2 separate regions of the Homo sapiens genome follow, and region 1 is linked to region 2. The links are contacts of gene promoters, found by promoter capture Hi-C in blood cells and fetal thymus (Javierre and others, 2016). All regions are on one chromosome and are shown on one strand. The core of a region is centred on a gene start or on the middle of the fragment in contact, and the rest is flanking DNA. Distances in the headings are between cores, read along the strand shown.

The links. Contacts are between HindIII fragments. The CHiCAGO score rates a contact against its expected background, and 5 or more counts as called.
Region 1: a contact is called between a fragment that was not itself captured here and the fragment with the promoter of OLFML2B in region 2, in 6 of 17 cell types (naive CD8 T cells, total CD4 T cells, M0 macrophages and 3 more). The highest score is 7.8, in naive CD8 T cells.

The regions. Positions count from the first base shown.
Region 1 is chr1:161,880,477-161,886,612 of GRCh38, forward strand. The region is part of intron 14 of ATF6 (activating transcription factor 6); the gene reads left to right. Among named protein-coding and RNA genes, the nearest start is that of ATF6, 120 kb to the left of the region's middle. The HindIII fragment of the contact is 5,424 bases long and covers 1,168-6,136 here.
Region 2 is chr1:162,022,571-162,028,759 of GRCh38, forward strand. It overlaps OLFML2B (olfactomedin like 2B), which reads right to left and starts at 1,299. Exons shown (of 8, transcript NM_015441.3): 1 at 687-1,299. The coding sequence starts at 860. RefSeq lists silencers at 1,411-1,560, 1,629-1,923. The HindIII fragment of the contact is 12,162 bases long and covers 1-3,842 here.

The DNA of each region.
Region 1 (6,136 bases), core at 2,630-5,129, 140 kb before region 2:
CTGATCTTTCTGTTACTACAAATTAGTTTATAGTTTTAAAAATTGTATATAAAGGGATCTTAATTATATATATTTTCCTTCCAGCAGAATTATTTTGAGATTAATCCATGGTGTTGCTTGTATCAGTAGTTCGTCTTTACTGCTAATATTCTGGTGTAGGGATATAGCACAATTTACTAATATATTCACCTTCTACTGTTAGCTACTACAAACAAAGCAACTGTGACTATTTGTGTACAAGTCTTTGTAGGGACAAATGCACTCACTTCCCTTGTGTAAATACCTAGGAGTGGGATGGCTGGGTTATATAGTAGGCATATGTTTAGCTTTTTAAGAAACTACCAAACTACTTTGGTACAAGTGGTTGTACCATTTTACATTCCCACCAGTGGGAATAAGAGTTGCAGTGCCTCCATATCCTTGGCAACACTTGATACAGCCTATCTTTTTATTTTTAGCCATTCTAATAGAGGTATGTAGTGGTATCTCATTGTGGTTTTAATTTGCATTTCCCTAATAACTATATTAATTTTGACCAACTTTTTATGTGCTTATTTGCCATCCATAAATCTTCTTTGGTGAAGGGTCTGTTCAAATCTTTCCCGATTTTTTATTGAGTTATTTTCTAATGATTGAGATTTCATTTTGAGGATTTTGTGTGTGTGTTGTTTTGTTTAGCAGCTTAGAACACACACATTTATTATCTCACAGTTACTATGGGTCAGGAGTCCAGGCATAGATTTGCTGGGTCTTCTACTCCAGGGTTTCATCTGAAAGTAACAATCACAGTCTTGGCCAGGGCTGCAGTTGCATCTCAAGGTTTTACTGGGGAAGGTTCCACTCATAAGTTCACATGATTGTTGGTAGAATTCAGCTCCTCGTGGGATGCCGAACTAAGGGTCTCAGTTATTTGCTCAGTTGGAGATTCCCCTCAGTTCCTGCCACATGGGCCTCTTGATATGGCAGCTCACAACATGACAACTTGCTTCATGAAAGCCAGCATGGAAGTGTTTATGTTTACTGGTTTATTATGATTAACAAAGGATACAGATGAATAGCCCGATGGAAGAGATGCATAGGGCAAGCTATGTGGAAGGGGTATGGAGCTTCCATACCCTCTCCAAGTAGGCTACCTTCCAGGCACCTCCTCATGTTCAGCAATCTGGAAGCTTTGCGAGTTCTTTATGTATTCTATATACAAGTCCTTTATCAAATACATGACTTGTAAATATTTTCTCCCAGTTTTTTGCTTGTATTTAAATTTCCTTTTTAGTGTTTTTCAAAGGGCAGAAATTCTTAATTTTGATGAAGTCCAATATGTCAGCTTTTTATTTTATGGACTGTGTTTTTATGGTTTTAAGAAATATTTGCCTAACTAAAGGTCACAAATATTTTCTCATATTTTTTTTCTTAAAGTCTTACAATTTTAGGTTTTACATTTAGGTGTATGATCCATTTTGAATTAATTTCTGTATATGTGCAAGGTGTATATCAAAGTTCATTTTGTGTGTGTGGATATCCAGTATTGTATGATATTCAATGCTGTGTTTTCACCTAATAGCTTTTAAAGGAAGAATTAAAGCAAAGCCAAGTTAAATAGGTTATACCAGACTGTTAGTTTTCTTTGTGTTATCCTTGACTTTGTTAGGTTGCACATTTTGCTGGAACTTCTTAAAACAGTATCCTATGATTGAACTTCTTCAACCTCAAATTTCCAGTCTTTATACTTAACCAATGAAATGTTATTTATATACTCTTTGGAAACATAACATATACTGTAGATAATTATAACAAAAGTGTAATGGGTAGCAGAAGATATTGCCAAACCAAAATTCTGGAGACCAGATGAGACAAACACATAATATGTGCCTGTATGGGTCACAGTGCTAGGAAATACACTGAAAAGTGAACAAAGAACTAAAAATAAGCCTCTTATAAGAAAAGCTGCTACTTCTGGGCTAATCTATTAGTAGTTTGTTTTCCTTAATTTGAAAAAGAGCTTCAGAATCAGACTCTAGAGTGAATCTTTTAAAACTATATATATTATGCATGTATACACATATACATACTCTATGCATTGGCTTAGATAATATAAAAACAGCACAGGAATAGTTTATGCTGTAGTATTGTGCAGTCTTATTCAGAAATAAGAAAAATAGTTTTTCCATTTAGCTGTGAGTCATTACTTTTTAGTTTCGTGGAGAAATTAAGTTTTAGTGGGGGTCGATACAGCTTTTTTTTTTTTGTAGAAAATCAGGTAGCATGGGCTTTGGAGTCAGACAAATCTCGGTTTTAATTTTCAGTGTCCTTATCTCTAATATAGTAATATTAATAGTTACCTCTTCCTGGGTTGTTGAGAGGTTTAAATGAAATAATAAGTTAAGTACTGGCACAGTGCTTAACACATAATAGGTATTCAAGATATGTATACTTCTTTATCATCAGGGGATTGACCTTGGAAGCATATGGGTACATAGAAAGAACCCATAAAAGGATATGACAAGGGGAGAGGAGTTTGTTTTCATTAGATTTAGCAAATTCATTCTTTCCCCCAACTCCCCAGAAAAATTCATTTTAATGCTATTATTTTCCTTATCACCCATAAACAGACAGAAAATTGGCATGTTTCGAAAGAGTGTTAAAACTGCAAGAGTATTACATGGTATCATTACACTACCATCCATTATCTAACTGGGTTTATTTATGAAGGTTAGATTTAGATAATTTAGACTTACCCTTTTTCCATTTTGTGGGGAAAGAGAATCAGAAACTTGAAAGGAAGAGCTCTTCCAAACAGAAAGATAGCTAGAATCTCTCTCAATAGTCTATATAATCTCTTCTAATAATCTTTAGCAAAAGTGACTTTTGAGTTCTTTTAAATATTTCCTGTATTGATTCTAATTCAGTGCTCATTTCATGTGATGTCTATAGAACTACAGACTTAGATTACAGTCAGAAAACTGAGTAACAGCAGACACCAGGTTTTCAGCTGTTTTTAGGGTTTATTCAGATTGACTACATCACATTCATTTGGATGGATTTAGTGACATCAATTGATAATTGTAAAGAAACTAGCCTTTAATCTGACATTTTCATATTGATATTAGATAGGAGCCACATGACTATGTCATGGGTTCATTCACAAGATATAATAAACATTATTTTCACTTGTAGCATAAAAGCAGTCTTTAGTGTTATCTTAGAAGCATTAAAACACACACATATATAAAATCATATAGATTAAAAAATTCTATCAGCATAGGTTCTGTAATTGTTAATAGATGTAATTGCATAAGGTCGCTATGCATTATTTCTCATTTTCAGATGAAGCCTGTCACCTTGACATTTTTATATATAATAGGAATCCACAGGTTGTTAAAAACATAAGGAAATTAAGATAATTTGAATTCAGATTATAAAATAGTTCAGGTCTATTCTGATGAAGCAATGTCACTTAGGTCTGAGGCTTTTGGGTCAGCTTTTAAAAGTTTATCTTATTTTTCATTAAAATATGTATGTATAATACTCTATCATGCAAAGAGAAATGGTCAACAGAATTTCTGTGCATATATGGTTGCTGGTTATTTGAAAGCCATTCTCCTCCTAGGATTATTTGACCAATTTTGTATTCAGCTTAGATTAGGGAGAATATAGTGTCTCCTTAGGTAAAATACTTACTAGAACCAAAAAGTCCAGATTAAATTGTTTTTATTTTTATTTTACTGCAGTTTTGTGCAGTTGACCTGATTTTAAAATATAAAACTAGGAAGGCATATTTTTCATCTACCAAAATGTGAATCTTACTTTCATTTTGAAACAAACACCTCTGCTTTAAGAAGATGAACGGTAGTGATAAATACAAAAACGTTAAAATTTTTTAAATGAATAGCGTTTGTTGATCTTTAAAGAAAACATAAATGTGAAATAACTTTAGAGCTTAAAAGTTTTCTTCCTCAAACCTTTTAGGAATTGATTTTATTATCCAAAACAACTTTATTCATACTAAGTGTGACTATCTGAATAATTACCTTACTTTTATAGTTTTTTTTTTAAAAAAGCTCTTCTAACTGTAATTATCCTCAAAGAATTGGATTAAGAAATTCAATAATTTTCTGTCATTAGTCCAGCGAGATATTTACTGAATAGCCATTACGTTCCTGGCTGTTAACACTACAAGGACTCCAGCAATGAGCAAAGCAAACAAGCCCTTGCTTTTCCAGAGCCCACATTCTAGAGTCAGATGCTAAACAAATACACAGATACATATATAATAAAATATTGGTTTAAGTGTTGAAAAGCAAAATCAGAGTAAGAAGGCAGGTAGTCATTTTAAATTAACATTGAGAAATGTTTCCATTTTAAGCATATAAATTCTTTGGCTTCTCTTTTTAAATTTGCTTTTGACTGTTTGTTGCTGGCGAAAATTATTTAAAGTAATTAGGAACTCATCGTAAATATTTTGTACACTACTCTAAAAATCTAATTCCAACTAGTGAATTTAGCATTTATAAATGGAGGTGTCTATAGAGGAATAAAATCTTTGGTTAACCACTACTTTACTTTTAGCAGTAAAGTCTGCAGCTCATGAAATTTGTAATTCTGGAGTGGTTTCAGTTTGCACCATCCCCTGGGGAGCCTGTTGATACAGCACTGAGCTACAGATTATTATTCAGCTGTAGAAGTTTTATGCTTAGGCATTTTCTTACATCTTCTTCTCTCAGTCAGTTGAAATCTTGTATTTTTGCCAAATAAAACAAATCCTATATTAATAAGAAGCTATAAATAAACAGTAGGAGCATGAGTCAGAGCCAGCATCACCCCATTCCTTGTGTGTACCTCTCTAGTACTCCCCAGTATGTTCCTTTTGCACAAACATGTAGTACTGCGTAACTACTGTTCTACAGATGAACTCCAGTTATTTAAGTGAGGCCTGTTTTTTAGAACTAAGTAATACTGTAACTAGTAGAATTCTGGCATGTTACCACAGTCAAAAGCAGAATGTGAAGCTGTATGCTATTGATGGGAGGAAAAAAGAAATATATTTCCTACCTTTCCTGTATAAAGCCCAGAAGATTCCTGTTAGATTTCCAAAATGGGTTTTTATATAATATAATATAATTCAACATTTTTTTCAGAGGAAAAAAGAAAAAGATAAGTTGCTTGAAAGTCCCATCTCTTTTGCTAGTCGGCTTCTGTCTGATAAAATTTTATTCTGTTTTGCTTCATTGTTTATTCATTCAGTAGATGTTCATTGAACACTTACTGTTACCAGGCACTGTGCTACCATAGACGGTATAAAGACAAATAAGCTAAAATCCTTGTTCTCAAGGAATTTATTATTGTAGAGAAAAGTGACTTGTAAATCCAAAATTTCATACTGGGATAGGAACTATAAAAGAGACATCCTGCAGAATACTGAGATTATAAATAAAACTAGTATGTTTGAAGCATTTAGTGTCCTAGCTGTTTTATAGAAGTCATTTCATTTAATCCTTTCAACAGCTTTATGAGGTAGATATCATTACACTATTTTACTTGTGCCAAGAGCACTACATTCATCAAGGAAGGAGGAGGTAGTATCAAATTTTTCAGAAAACAAGAGAGTTGGTTATAGAAGGATGAGTAGGGTAGAGAGTAGGAGGAAGATGAGGCAGTGTGGCATTTCAGACAGAGAGGTGAATATGTAAGCACACAGGATGAGTGAGAGAATTGTTGGAATGTAGTCAGTTCTAGGAAATAAAAGATGGCAGGGTCCAGATCATGAAGTTTGGTTCTTAACCTGTAGAAGACAGAAATATGATCAGACTTGCATTTCAGGAAGATAACTCTGTAATTGTTTGCAATTCCTGTTAAACGAAGAAATTTTCTCCAGCATTGACTTATGTTTATTAAATACATATAAAAACTAAATTCTAGAAACATCTTATACAGTTATACATCACTTAGCAATGGGATACATTCTAGGAAATGCATTGTCAGGCAATTTCTTCATTGTACAAACGTCATAGAGTATACTTACACAAACCTAGATGTATATCTTTGTTTATATTTATTTTTTCATATGGAAAACCAAATTTCTTAGCCATGTTACTGAATGTCAGTCATTTCCCTTACTTGATCTGCATCACCAACATTA
Region 2 (6,189 bases), core at 49-2,548:
TTTATCTATAAATGGGTATTAGGGTGTTTTGAAGATTGAGTCAGAAAAAACAAGTTTAAGTACTTGGTAAACGGACACTTTACGAAGCCCATCACTATCATGGGTTACTCGGGCCCCCACTGACAGTCTGCCCTAGCTGCCTGCATCTGCATTCCCACTCTCCCCTCCCAGTACACTCCGTCATGTTCTCAGTCTCTCTGTTTGGGGGTCACCTCACATTCATCACACATGCTTCTGTTCTGACTTCACCCCATGCTCCCGCCTGGTGTCCCACCCTCTGCCATAAAGTATCTCCCGATGGGATATGCCATCTGCCTCCTGGTCAACATATCCGGCTGTTTTCACATTCCAATTCTGACAGACAGCCACATAGACAAGAGATACTTTTTACAACCCTGAAACCAAAAACAACTTTGTTTTCTTTCTTCTCAAGAAGTCGAGCGGCATCTTCCCTTCCTTCACCTCTCCTTTCTCCTGATTTGATGACCTTTAAGCACCCTATGATTTTGCGAGGAGAACCTATATCCTTCCATTAAGAAAATATTCCGATACATGAAAAATCAAAAGCCCTTTCCATTGGTAATGGAAGGAAAAACAGCTGCCCTCAAACACTTCAGCAAGGACCAGCTTCTGGCTCTCACCACCATCCAGGGCAAGAAGGGCGGTCGTGGCACTCTGCATCCTACCTGAGATAAAACGTTCTCCTGGTTGTCCGCCTCGTTTTGCAGAGTCTCGTCCTCCGCAGGCGCCACTGTCTGCGCATCTGGGGGCTCGCTTGTCCCTGTGAGGACAATGCTGGACACCCAGGCCGGAACCACAATCAGAGCGAAGTAGAGAACTAGCAGCCGAGGCTTGGCCATGAGGGGCGCGATAAGAGTGTCCTCAGCCCCTTCAGAGAATGGCTGGGGCGGGGGGTCTCGGCAAGGACTTCTGCGAGAGGGTGTCCTCGCTAGAGCCCGAAAGTGGCTGCTGAGAGCACCTTCTAAAGCTGGGTGCGGCTGAGCGGGACGGGAGGGTGCGCCCCAGAGACTCTGGGCATCTCCTTCCCGACGCGAGCAGCCCTCGACTGTGCAGCCCCAGTGGAGAGCCGGACGCAAGGAAGAGGGGATGACGGAGAAGGTGGAGGCGGGCACGGGCTAGCTGAGCGAGTCGCCCGCAGGAGGGCTCAGGTGGCTGGAAGGCGTTCGGACAGACGCCCGCGGTGCGCGCCGGGACGGGCGGCGGGGAGCCTCGGGACGCACGGGGACCGGACACGGGGAGGGAAGAGGCGGTGGCGGCGCGGGCTGCTGGGCGAGGGCTGCTGGGCTAGGGAGCCGCGGAGAGCTCGCGCGGAAGGAGGGCGGAGCCTCTATTGTGCCGGGGCGGCGGAGATGCAGCCAGTGACCGCGCGGAGGAGGAGGACCTGGAAGCGCACAGGGCTCGGGCGGAGGGGTACCCGGCGGACCCCGTCCCCGCTGGGACTCAGCTGCCGCGCGCCGGCTGAGGGTGACGTTGGAAGGGCTTTACTTTCTTCTCATCTGATCGCAAGTGAGTGAAGAGAAGTTACTCCGAGCGGCGTCCCTGAAGTTTTGGGGTTCGACCATTCTTGGCGAGAAGAGCGACTTTCCATCGCAGGCACCCAGCGCTCGCTCCAAGGCTGAGCTAGTTAGGGATCTGCGGCATCGTCCTTTAGCACACCTGGGGCAGGGGAGAAGGCGCGTTTGTTCCCAGGCGTTTCTTTTCCCTGACTTAACTCTGGGCGAGTTCTCGGGCAGCTTTGAACTTAGCGCCGTTGGTAGCTGCTTGCCTGCCACGGCTTTAGAACCTAGTAATACCTCCACCCAGAGGAAAATCATTGAATTCCTTCCTAGAGTGTGTCCTGAGTTGTGTAAACGTTGAAAGTTAGGGGAATGACTGTACATCTCCGACACTCTCCGCGAGTCCCCATGGGGAAAGCTACTGCCTGATAAATGATTACCAAAGGGAACAGCTCTTCCTGTCTTCCTGGTTTGGGACAAATCTCCGGGTCTCTGTTACCAGATTATCTCTAAGAGGGAGTCCACTTTCAATAGTGTGCAATTATGTTACTATGTCCCTCAATTACTGAGGACAACCTTTTATAAACCTACAGTGAAGATTACCAATATGTGAATTTAAGGAAGGGCACTGTGCCATCCTGGACAACTGTCACTCGGAATATTGAACAGAGCCAGGCCCCTTCAAAGGATATTATGCACCCTTGGGAAATTCAAACACCTTGCTTCTTATGCTGAGGAATAAGGGTTGTAATAAACTAAGGAAACTAGCGCATATAAGTAATAGTTGACATAAGTATAATAATAACCCTTATTAGTATATTTTAATCTTCAAAAAATTCAGTTTATGGACAAAAATTCAATGCTCTGGGTGTCTAGGTTTGTGGGGACATCATGCACACACCCTCCTCTGTGTAAGCTATCAAATCTTTTCTGAAACTATATGGGGGTAAACATTGATAAAATGTGGTGTATTTGATTGTTTGTTTGAGACAGAGTCTTGCTCTGCCACCCAGGCTGGAGTGCAGTGGCGGGATGATCTTGGCTCACTGCAACCTCCGCCTCCTGGGTTCAAGTGATTCTCGTGCCTCGACCTTCAGAGTACCTGGGATTACAGGCGCACGCCACCATGCCCGTTTAATTTTTTGTATTTTTACTAGAGTTGGGGTTTCGCCGTGTTGCCAGGCTGGTCTCGACCTCCTGGCCTCAAGCCATCCATCCGCCTTGCCCTCCCAAAGCACTGGGATTACAGGGGTGAGCCACTGTGCCCCACCGATAAAGTGTAGTTTTAAAATTCAGTTAAGGGGCGGAGTGTGGTGGCTCACCCCTGTAATCTCTACTGAAAATACAAAAATTAGCCTAGCCTGGTGGCATGCACCTGTAATCCCAGCTACTCTAGAGGCTGAGGCAGAAGAATCGCTTGAACCCTGGAGGCAGAGGTTACAGTGAGCCGAGATCCGCCACTGCACTATAGCCTGGGCTACAGAGCAATACTTGGTCTCAAAAAAAAAAAAAAAATCAATTACAGTAAGCATTGAATGTTGATTAAGTGCAAGACAACAAGCTAGGTTGCTAGACATTTAATGGGAAGATGAGATAGTCCACATCTTACAAAGTGGGCGTGGGAGTCAGGAGGTAAGCAGAACAAGCACTGAAATTGTGAGGCAGAGTAAGAACATATCTCATGGGGTTTAAATAAGGAATAGGTCACTTCTAGTGGAAAGGTCAGTGTGGATTTCATGAAAGCATGATACTGAAGATGACTGGGATGATGGGAGGTTTCAACAAAACAGTGGATAAGGCAACATGATGGGAGGGGGGGCCATGGCAGGGGAGAGAAAGAGAGCATTCTGGGCAAAGACATAATCCTGAATGTGCATATTCATATTTCAGATGGCTGCTCACTTCTCAGGGCAGCCTTCCTTGACTCCACCACCAGCATAATTTCTCTATTAAATGCTCCCATAATACCATGTACCTCTTTTTCATAGAAGCAGGAGAGATGGATATTTATATTCCTCCTTTGTGGGTTGTTTTGGGGGTGCCTGTCTTCCCCACCAGACTATAAATTCAAGAGGGCAAGGACCTTGTTAGTTTTGCTCACCATTACATCTTCAGAGTTTAACCAGTGCCTAGAACAAAGTGGACACTAAATAAATATTGGTTGAATGAATGGAAATTACGAATTGTCCAACTGGGTGTAGGCTCAGTTACCTTTATAAATACCATCTCTGTATCCATTAGGGTGCATTTGACTGCAAGTGATAGAAAATCCTTCTAGGAATGTCTCAGTCAAATATACATTTATTATCCCACTCTAAGAAGACAAGCTTGGCTGTTTAAAATTTAATTCAGCAACTCAGTGATGTCAGCGAGGACCCAAGCTCTTTCCATTTTCCACTCCATTATTCTTACAGCATTGGCTTTTTGACCTAGTCATAATTGATTTAAGCAAGTCCCAGCTACCCCTGTGCCAGACATTCAATTTCCCAGTCTCCTTTACAGCTAGGGGTAACCACCCGGACAAGATATTTTGCTTCCTGATAAAAGAAACAAATAGGAGAGAGGACCTTTCTGGTGCTACTCTTCCCTCACTTCTTGTCTTTGATTGTGTCTTTGACCACAGTCAAAGTGTTATAGGACCAACAGGTTCTTATGCCCGCTGTGCAGTAACAGACCAATTACACTATGTCAGCAGGGTTTGCAGCAGAGAAAGAATTTGATGATTGCAGGGCACCACGTCAGGAGATGGGAGGAGACCCTTGAATCCATCTCTCCAAGGAGCTCTGGGCTGGCGTTTTAATTTAAGGGGATTGTGGAGAGTGAGTGGCTAAAAAATTGAGGTTATTAATTGGTTGGGCCAAGACGATGGAACAAAGTTCTATCATCAGGATGTGGAAACTGCCTTCTTTGGTGAGTCAGGATCTCATGGGGTCCTTCAAACTAGCTGAGTCAGTAGCTTCATCAGTATGCAGGACCCAAAAGAGTATCTCAAAGGGAAAACATAATGTTTCATAATGTTCAAGTTGTTTTCTATAGAACAGTTAAGGGGCTTTATAATCTTTTAACAGGATCTATGTGATTCTGAGGCAATAGGCACAGAGTAACTATGAGGAAACAGGTCAGAGAGCAAGTAGACCTCACGATTACTGCTGAATGTGCTGTGAACTTGGTTTATTTTCATTTCTTCCCTTTCCTTCTTCCCTGGTTAATTTTATAAAGTTTATAGGGGCTGTTTCAAAAGTGCCAGGAGCTGTGGCAGCCATCTTATGACCATGAGTCCTTTCTCTTATCTAACTAAAATATATTTCCTTTAGGGTCTACTTTTAAAGTCACCTTTTAATGTCCAGTCCTACAGTCCTACACAGAATATGTCTAAGGACTTTCTCACGGAGAGTTTCATTCCTTTCACTTAAAGATAAATAGTTAAGTACTGGCCGGGCATGGTGGCTCACGCCTGCAATCCCAACACTTTGGGAGGCCGAGGCAAGTGGATTACTTGAGGTCAGGAGTTCAAGACTAGCCTGGCCAACATGGCAAAACCCTGTCTCTGTTAAAAATACAAAAATTAGCTGGGCCTGGTGGCACACGCCTGTAATCCCAGTTACTTGGAAAGATAAGGCAGAAGAATCACTTGAACCGGGGAGGCAGAGGTTGCAGTGAGCCGAGATCACACCAATGCACTCCAGCCTGGGCAACAGAGAAAGACTCTGTCAAAAAAAAAAAAAAAAAAAAAAAGGTTAAGTACCTTCTAAATATCCTCTTTCTCAACATCACTAGCCCACTTTCTTCATCTTTTATCTCCATTATATTCAACTGTTTCTCAAACCACATGGCCTTCCAAACTCTTCATTATTTTGGTTATTTTCTCTCTAGAAAGACTCCAGTTTGAGTAGATATTAGAACCTATTGAAACAATTTGTTCTTTTTTTTTCTGGGCACTGTGCTTTTATTAATGCAGCCTAAGATTACCTTAGTTTTGGCAGCCAGATTGCACCAACGACTCACACTGATTTATCTTTTAAGTGTAGTTTTTAAATTTATTTTTGTGTGAATTTTTTACTGGTTTCCTCCATTCTGTGCTTTCCAGCTATGTTCTCTCTTTTTTTTTAATCCAAGTATAGGTGTTTACATTTTTACTGTAACAGTGTGATGATTTTGGTCCATTTTTTCATCCTGTTGAAATATTGCTATTTTTGCTTTTGTCCTGGTTTTGCATAATTTCCAAATTCACTAAGCATAGTTTCTGTCTTAGTTCAAATGATTAATTTTAAAAAGCCATCTTCCTTCAGATAGGGCCATATTCTAGAGCTCTACCTCCATAATAGGAAAAGTCTCTCCTTATTGATGTTAACCGTTTTGGTGTATGACTGTTCAGGCAGTCATGGGTGTTGGTGCCTAGTCCACATGTCTTCATCATGTCTACAAGCATTTCTTGAGAGACTTTTATCACTGTCTTTCAGAAATCAAGATACACTGCTCATGGCATTGCTTCTACCTGCCTGCCTGGCAACCTGAACTGATGATTCTGTGATGAGCTTGGTTTGGCTTTAGCAAATTGGGTTAAGTGCTTTTTACTTGTGTTAAAAAAAAAAAAAACATAGCTGGAAAGCACAGGATAGAGGAAACCGGCATAAAATTCACATAAAAATCCCTGCATCTTTTGCTCAGAGCC